Regions from separate parts of the Homo sapiens genome. Here region 1 is linked to region 2. The links are contacts of gene promoters, found by promoter capture Hi-C in blood cells and fetal thymus (Javierre and others, 2016). All regions are on one chromosome and are shown on one strand. Each heading gives the region's core, a stretch centred on a gene start or on the middle of the fragment in contact. The rest is flanking DNA. Distances are from core to core; before and after follow the strand shown.

Region 1 (4,149 bases), core at 1,558-4,057, 490 kb after region 2:
TCAAAATCAAAATTTCCTTCTGTTGTTCTTTTAGGCTAGATCTGCCAGTAACAAATTCTCCTAGTTTTTCTTCATCTGAGAATGTCTTCATTTCCCCTTCAATCCTAAATAATATTTTATCTGGGTATAGAATTCTGAACTGACAATTGTTTTCTTCCAGCACTTTAAAAATATTGTCCTGTTTCTTTCTGGCTTCTGTGGTTTTTTAGGAGGAATCTGCTGTCATTTGAATTTTTCCTCCCCTATAGGTAAAGTAGCTGTCTTCACAGGCTGCTTTCAAGGCTTTTTCTTTATTGTTAGTTTTCTGAAAGTGAATTATAATGCTACTAGGTGTAAATTTTTTTGGTTTTATCTTGTTTGGGATTTTCTCAGCTTATTGAATCTATAGGTTTATGTTGCACTCCAGATGTGGAAAGTTTAATGATTTTTTGACGACATTTTCAGTCTCATCCTCTTTCTGGTACTCCTGTGACATAAATTTAGGTGTTTGAGGTTCTGTTCTTTTTTTTTTTCTCAGTCTGTTTTCTCTCTGCTATTCAGATTGTATAATTTCTCATGTCTGATCTTCCAGTTCACTTTCCCCTGTCCTCTCCATTCTGCTAGACCATCCACTGAGTTCTGTGGTATTTTTGTTGTGGGTTTTTTTTCTTTTTTTTTAGTTATGGTATTTTTCAGTTCTAAAAATTTTATTTGTTTCTTCTCTATATCTACTATTTCTTTGCTGAGGCTTTCGATGTTTTCATTTGTTTAAAATGTGTTCCTAATTGTTGACTAAAGTGTTTTTATTGTGCCTGCATTAAAATCTTCATCAGATAATCCTAACATCTCTGTCATCTCGGTGCTGGCCTCTTTTGAATGTCTTTTTTCATTCAGTTTGAGATCTTCCTGGTTCTTGGCATGACGCTTGATTTTTTATTGAAACCTGGATGTTTTTGTATTATGTTATGCGACTGAATTTTCCTTAAGCCTTCTGTTTTAGCTGGCTTTCTGTGTCAGCACCCTGGAAGAGGAGAGGGAAGGCACTGCCTTGATACTGCCACGTGGGGTAGACGTCAAGATTCTCCAATCATCATCTATTGACACCCAAGCTGGGGGACTCCTTGTTACTACTGAGTGAAAGTTAGGGTTCCAGATTTCCATATGGTCTCTACTTACACCACAGTAGGAGAATCTTTGTTACCAGCTACTGGAGATGAAAGCCCTGGCTCACTACTTGGTCTTTTCAGACACCACTCTGGCAGGGGTTGTTGAAGTACCCCATCATATCCTCATGAGGGTGGAAGTCTCTGATCCCCACCAGGTCTTTGCTAGCATGGATCGGGATGGGGCCACAGTTTTTACTGTAGTGTTTGGAGCATAATGGTTATCGTCTAAAAGTCTTCTGCCTTGCTAGGCTGCCTCTTTCCTTATCCTTTAGCTAGAGAGAATAGCTTTTTGTTGATTTTTTTTCTCCTTCTCTGCACCTGTTTCTGGCTTCTTCAGCTTCAGGCCCAGGACATATGAGCCAAAAAAAAAAAACAAAAAGCAAAAACAAAAACAAAAAGAAACAGCAAGCTCATCACTGTGTCATTCCTCAGGTCCCACGATTCCCGGCTGGTTCACCTCCTTCTCTCTGCCTTTCAGAATCTTCTAACTTTTATTTATATAAACCAACCCAGAGTTTCTAGTTGTCTTTAGCATGGGGAAAGGGGAACAGTACATCTATCCCATCATTCTGGAAACATGTATATACACACACACCCATACACACACTGCATTTATGTTAGTATCAGTTATCAGGTCCTAATGTTCATTCTCCCTTTGCCTTCTCCTTTGCACTCCCCATTATGTGCCATTTTTCTCTCCCTCCCTCTGCCCCACACTGTTAGATTTGCTGTGCTCCCTTTTCTGGCCTTCCCCCTTGTTTTCTTCTAAGACTGAGGAAGAGTCTATTGGATGTAGCAGAATAATTTGGCAACTATTTAAAACCCATCAATCCTTTCATTCCACCTCATTCAGTCTCACCTCCCACATGGTCTCACCCCACACCTGTGCACATGGGGCCTGGCGAGGCTTGCTGAGCACTGCAGGAATCCACTTGAGCCTTACAGCTCACAGACATCCAGGGATCCCTCTAGGCATCCTCAGCTTGTATGATCCCACAATTGCACTTTCCTCATGATTATTTCTGTGACTAATTCTTCCCCTTGTCTCTTAGTGTGTGGTGCTTTATGCCTTCCACGTTTCATTCTCTGAAGTTTTAATTGATTTCTTACACTTCCTCCTCATGTGTGTGGATTCTTTACTTGTTACAAAATCACTATTGCAAAAGCCTTGATTATAAAAGTCCCTGGCACAAGCTTAGCGTCTGCTAAACTATCTGACTGCCCACACCCTTTCTCTGGACTTGTTTTAACCTTTTTCAGTTCCGCTCCAAGTGCTCTATGGTGTGGTTGTTTCGTAGAACTGGTGCTTAAAGACTAATGTCTCTCCCTGTTGTGCCTGCTGGGTTTCTAAAGAGGAAACCAAGTAGCTAATAGTCTATTTATTTTTCCAACAGTCTCAGGAAACAAACTCATGCAGGGCATCTATCTGCATAAAAGAAGTAGTAGCTCCATTGCTCTAGCTAAAGGGTAAAGCCACATTGGTATGCACTGCACAAAAGTAGAGGCTGACTTTAAGTCATAATTTGCATTTTCTCCTTGCAGAGCTATTTATCTGGAGATGTTAGAGTTCCCTGTATGTGGGAAACTCTCATTTAGCATTGTATAAATGGACTCTGGCTGAATCTGTGGAGCTCAGGCAGATATCTAAAAGTGGGCAACATGTTCTCTGGAATAGCTTTCCATAATTCTTTAACAACTGGTACCTGGTCCTGGTATGAAGGAACGGTTGAACTCAATTATCTCCCCATGAGAGAATTCCAGAAGAGATGGCTTAAACCCCAATCTCAGAGGTTTGAAGGAAATTCACATCTCCAGAAGGGACTGTGGAGGACAATGTCGCTCAACTATTTTAAGTTAGCAAAATGTCTCCCCTAGTCAGAGTAGGGAAAATGTAAGGTAAATATTTAAACAAGCGAAAGGAGGCAGTAAGCAAGAAGACAAAACCAACTCTACCTTCAAAATCATACAAAGAAAGAGGCTGGATTCTATTGGAATTAAATTGATGGAAAGGTCCTGGACCAGGCTGTGTCCTCCCCATGTGGCTGCAGTGGACACTGGACAAGACCCACTGGTTTATTTTGTGACTTTCACTCATGTGATGCCATTTATCAAGGTCACATGGCAAGCTTTTGGGAAAATCCACCCAGATTGCTGGTCTTTACTTCATTCCACTGTGGTCACACAGCTTAGCTACCAAGGGATTGGAGTAAGAAAAGTGTGCAGTGGGAGGCTGGGGTTGATCGTGGATTTATTTGGTAATAAAGGTCCTTGGGCCACATGTGCTCTGAATACAGTGATCTCACACAGACTTGCTCCCATTCAGGGACCTTATTACATATATGTCTCTCTTTGCCTCATGGTCATTCTTGTGTCACCAACCAGACTCCAAGTTTCTTGAAAACAGGGATGGTATCTCAGACTTAGACATTCCCTGGTATCTAACACAGTACTGGGCTCAATAAATGCTACATCGACTTGAGAGGGCCTGACAAAGGCTGGGCACAGTGGCTCACGCCTGCAACCCCAGCACTTTAGGAGGCTGAGGTGGGAAGATCACTGGACCCCAGGAGTTGGAGACAGCCTGGGCCACATGGCGAAACCACATCTTTAAAAAAAAGAAAGAAAGGAAGGAAGGAAGGAAGGAAGGAAGGAAGGAAGGAAGGAAGGAAGGAAGAAAGGAAAGAAAGAAAGAAAGAAAGAAATTGAGACACAGAAGCCAAAAATAACAAAAATGATGTTTGATAGAAAACCCATTTGAGGTAATTTATAAGTAAGAGAAAAAAATTAAAAAATAGAAAGGGCCTGACAAACATGCATATTAGTTCCTATGGTCAGCCTGAGCCACAGAGGGGCCGAAGGCAGAAGGAGCAGGAAGATCTGAGATGCTTCAGCAGAGAAGGGGACCTCTGAGGAGACTGGATCGAAGAACCAGCTACAGAGTCAAGCTAGTGAAGGAAATGCTTAAACTCATTGAAAGAAAAGCACCCCTCCCTCAAAGAGGGCT
Region 2 (4,286 bases), core at 522-3,021:
GAGCCACCATGCCTGGCCTGGCCTTGAGTTTCTGATGAAACCTGGGAAACCACATGTTTTTCTGAACACCTGGGAGCAACCCTTCTTTCTACTTGCTCAGACCTACCCACCTAGCTAAGTGCTTAACACGTGGACTGTCATTGGCTTAGAAGGTCAGAGTTGGAGGCCTCAGAGGTCGGCTGGTCCAGAGCTTCTCAGAGGGCATCCCTGGATCCTTGTATTAGCATCATCTCTGTGGTACTGGTTTAAAAACTGCAGATTCCTGGGTCTTACTTCAGACCTCCTGAATTAGAACTCTTTTTTGGGAGGGATGGGGGTGGAGGATTTGTGGTAGCACCTATTAGGGAATCAGCATTTTGAGCGAGTGCTCCAGGGGATTCTTCTGCACACTATATTTGTTTCCTGCGTCTTCTGTAACAAATGACCACAAATATGGTGGCTTAGAACAACATACATGTATTCTGTCACCGTTCTGGAGGCCAGAAGTCCCAAGGCTGTGAAATCGAGGTGTTGGAAGGCCCACATCCCTCCAGCGGCTCTAGGGGAGAATCCATTCTTGCCCCTTCCAGCTCCTGTGGCTGCTGGTGTTCCCTGGAGTGGGGCAGGATCTCGCTAACCTCTGCCTGCCTCATTTCATCACCTCTCCTTTTTGTCTATTGTCAAATCTTCTTCTGCCTTCCTCTTAGGACACTTGTGTATTTAGGGTCAGGATAATCTTCCCATCTCGAGATCCTTAACTTAGTCATAGCAGCAAAAACCCTTTTCCCAGATAAGGGACTATTTACAGGTTCTCAAGATGAGGACCTGGTATCCTTGGGGGACCATTTTCTAGTGTGCCACAAACACTGAAGTTCAAAAAGCATTGGTGTGGTTGACATCCTTCGGGTAGACCAGATGTAGGAAACTGGAGCCCAGAGAGAAGTGACTAATCCAAGGTCATACAGCTTGTAACTCACTTCTGAGATTGGAATCAAGGCTCCTGATTCCAAGGCCTTTCTGGGAATCCTGGCTTCAAGGAATAGTGATACCTGACATTCACTGAATGTTACTTCATACTGTTCTAAGCAGATGACATGTACTATCTCATCACTCTTCCGAACAACCCTTTGTGGTAGGCTCTCCTATGCTCTTCCAGTTTATAGATAAAAAAACTTAGGAGAAAAGAGGTTAAACAACTTGCCCAACATGACAGAGCAAATTACCGGGGGAGCTGGGATAGAAACCGAGGCAGTCAGAGGCCAAAGCGTTCACTCACAGGTGGAACCTCCTCCAGTCAGGCTTATTCCAAATCTGGCCTGTGAATCACTACTCTCTGGTATTTTTTGCCTTCCTAGGAAATATGCACCAAAACATTTCTGGCAGGAAAGGAGGCCCCTGTAACTACTTGCCTTCTTCCTGCTCAGAGCCATGCCTCCAATTCCTTGATGAATATTTGCTTCAAGCTGCTCAATAAGCCTTCTCATCTCAGTCAATGGGCTTGAAGCAAGGTAAGCAGGTCTTGCAAAGAGGTGTGTGGAGGGAATGCCGGGGTGGGGTCAAGATCCTAATGGATTTCTTAGGCTAATGGCCTGGGATGGGCCCTGGAAAGTTCCCAGACCCCAAATTATTTGCAAAAGGCAGAAGAAGAAGGTGGGGCAGATTGGCCTGGACCTTGGGTACATATTTGTCCCTGGCCATGACTCACTTCCTTCTGGAACAGGGCCTCAGGTGAAATGTTTGTCTGCTCCACCTCCTTTAGTGCCTTATAGCTCCCCTCCCAGTGGAGCAGGTGTCTGAGAGTACAGTGCAGCCCTGCCCTTCTGTCCACCCTACAGAGCCCACGGCCATGGCAGCCCAGGCAGCTGGTGTATCTAGGCAGCGGGCAGCCACTCAAGGTCTTGGCTCCAACCAAAACGCTTTGAAGTACTTGGGCCAGGATTTCAAGACCCTGAGGCAACAGTGCTTGGACTCAGGGGTCCTATTTAAGGACCCTGAGTTCCCAGCATGTCCATCAGCTTTGGGCTACAAGGATCTTGGACCAGGCTCTCCGCAAACTCAAGGCATCATCTGGAAGCGGCCCACGGTAAGGAAGCGGGCTTGCTGTTGAGTGACATACAAGGTGGAGGGGCCTTACATCTGATCAGGAGGAACTGAGGGAGAAGTTGAGGCTGTGGACCCTAAGTGTCTGGATCTCATATTTCAGATCCCTCCACCACCACCTTTTTTAATTTTATTTTTTTGAGATGGAGTCTTGCTCTGTCACCCAGGCTGGAGTGCAATGGCATGATCTCAGCTCACTGCAACCTCTACCTCCTGGGTTTGAGTGATTCTCCTGCCTCAGCCTCCCGAGTAGCTGGGATTACAGGCATGTGCCACCATGTCTGGCTAATTTTGTATTTTTAGTAGAGATGGGGTTTCTCCATGTTGGTCAGGCTGGTCTCAAACTCCCAACCTCAGGTGATCCATCTGCCTCAGCCTTCCAAAGTGCTGGGATAGCAGGCATGAGCCACTGCATCTGGCCCCCCCATCACCTTTTGAACTCTTATTTTTTTTGAGGCAGAGTCTCACTCTGTCACCCAGACTGGAGTGCAGTGGTGCGATCACAGTGCACTGCAACCTCAACCTTCCTGGGCTCAGGTGATTTTCCTACCTTAACCTCCCAAGTAGCTGGGATTATAGGCACGTGCCACCACACCCAGCTAATGTTTACATATTTTTGTAGAGACAGGGTTGTGCTGTGTTGCCCAGGGTGGTCTTGGACTCCTGGGCTTAAGCCATCTGCCCACCTCAGCCTCCCAAAGTGTTAGGATTACAGATGTGAGCCACTACACCCAGCCTGAACTCTTGTTCAGAGATGGTGAGGTATAGAGAGAAGAGCATGGATGAGCTTTGGAACTAGGTAAGATAGATTTGAATCCTAGCTCTGCCTGTGTTGTTTTGGGCCGGTAAACTCTGTGAACCTTAGTTTTCTCATCTGTAAAATGGCATTTACTGGCACCTTATTTTTCAGGGTTGGTATGAGAATTAGAGATAAATCTCAGAGCATAGTGCCCAGAACATAATAGATGCAGAATACGTAGTTGTTATTACTGCATATGGTCCCTGGGCCAGTGCACAATGGAACAACTCAGTGCTGGATGCAATCAGCTGGCAGGTAAATTGTGACAACATCATTGCTGAAAGGTGCACGGTTGCGCAAGGTCATGAATTGACATTATTCCATCAGGGCTGGTGAGTGGAGAGGTGGGAGCTGGGGCTCTGTGGATGCAGACGGAAGGCAGAGGCTCCTGGATGCGGTTACTGATACTACCCAAAGCTCAAGGGCAAGGGATGGAGAACAGTCCTCCCAAAACCTAGACCCATGACCTATCACTATGTGACCCTTGTCAAGTGATTCCTCAGGGATGAGAACCTCTCCCATACAGAGTGGTTGTGAGAATTGAGCTCATCCATACAAAGTGCTCTGTTCAACAGAGCTCATAACAACGTCTCAGGAGAGGGGCTATGAAATGACCTGGGCACCTTTTGTCTTCTAAACCATGATAGGGAAATTAAGTCAGGGTTCCTATTTTCTTGGCAGTGGTTGAAACAGGAAGACAAAGGGAGAGTACTTCTTCTAAAATGGTCAAAATCACTATTTAACTCCAGCTAGCTACCTCTACCCTTTTTACTTTGATCCTGCTGATTTTGCCTAACAGTTTTCATCTCTGAGAATAACTCCTTGGCCATGCTGCCCTCCCGCCCACCGTGGTTCATCTTCCCATTCCCCTCTGAAACCTATAGGGTTACCCTGGTATGTTGATAAAATCCAGATTGGGAGTAATGGTTTTTATTCTAATTTCAAGACAGCCACATTTCATTTCAACAGACAGTTTTTTTGAGCTTCCATTTTGTGCCAGGCATGGGCTCTGCACTGATTGGAAAGGTGGTCAGGGAGAAGCTGAGGAAGGAGCTGTGGTCTCAGCTCTGATGGAAAGTGTGGGGAGACACAGGTGTGAATAAAGGACAGATGCCCAAGGCAGAATGAAGTAAGAACTCTACAGAGGCATAAATGATGGGCCATGGGAACCTGGGTTGTCACAACTGGGTGGTGAAAAGCCTTAGGGAGGGGTACCATTGCAGATCCCAAGGGTCTTGGGGGAGAGGAAGGAGGGGGAGAAAATTTTCCTTTAGAGACCAAAGTCAGGTATCAGTTAACCTTTGCTTAGTTTTTCTCCTTTCTTTGAAATCCTTAGAGACTTTACCTCCTTAACCACATAGCCTGTTCTTCCCCAAACTATGTCTTCACCTGTCCTCGTGGTCTGTGG

The links. The method cuts DNA at HindIII sites, captures the fragments that hold promoters and counts their contacts. A CHiCAGO score of 5 or more calls a contact.
Region 1: a contact is called between a fragment that was not itself captured here and the fragment with the promoter of CAPN8 in region 2, in 1 of 17 cell types (M1 macrophages). The highest score is 5.5, in M1 macrophages.

What each region holds. Positions count from the first base shown.
Region 1 is chr1:223,179,165-223,183,313 of GRCh38, reverse strand. No RefSeq gene overlaps it. Among named protein-coding and RNA genes, the nearest start is that of TLR5, 38 kb to the right of the region's middle. The HindIII fragment of the contact is 932 bases long and covers 2,342-3,273 here.
Region 2 is chr1:223,663,186-223,667,471 of GRCh38, reverse strand. CAPN8 (calpain 8) reads left to right here and starts at 1,771. Exons shown (of 21, transcript NM_001143962.2): 1 at 1,771-2,062. The coding sequence starts at 1,826. The HindIII fragment of the contact is 20,763 bases long and covers 1-4,286 here.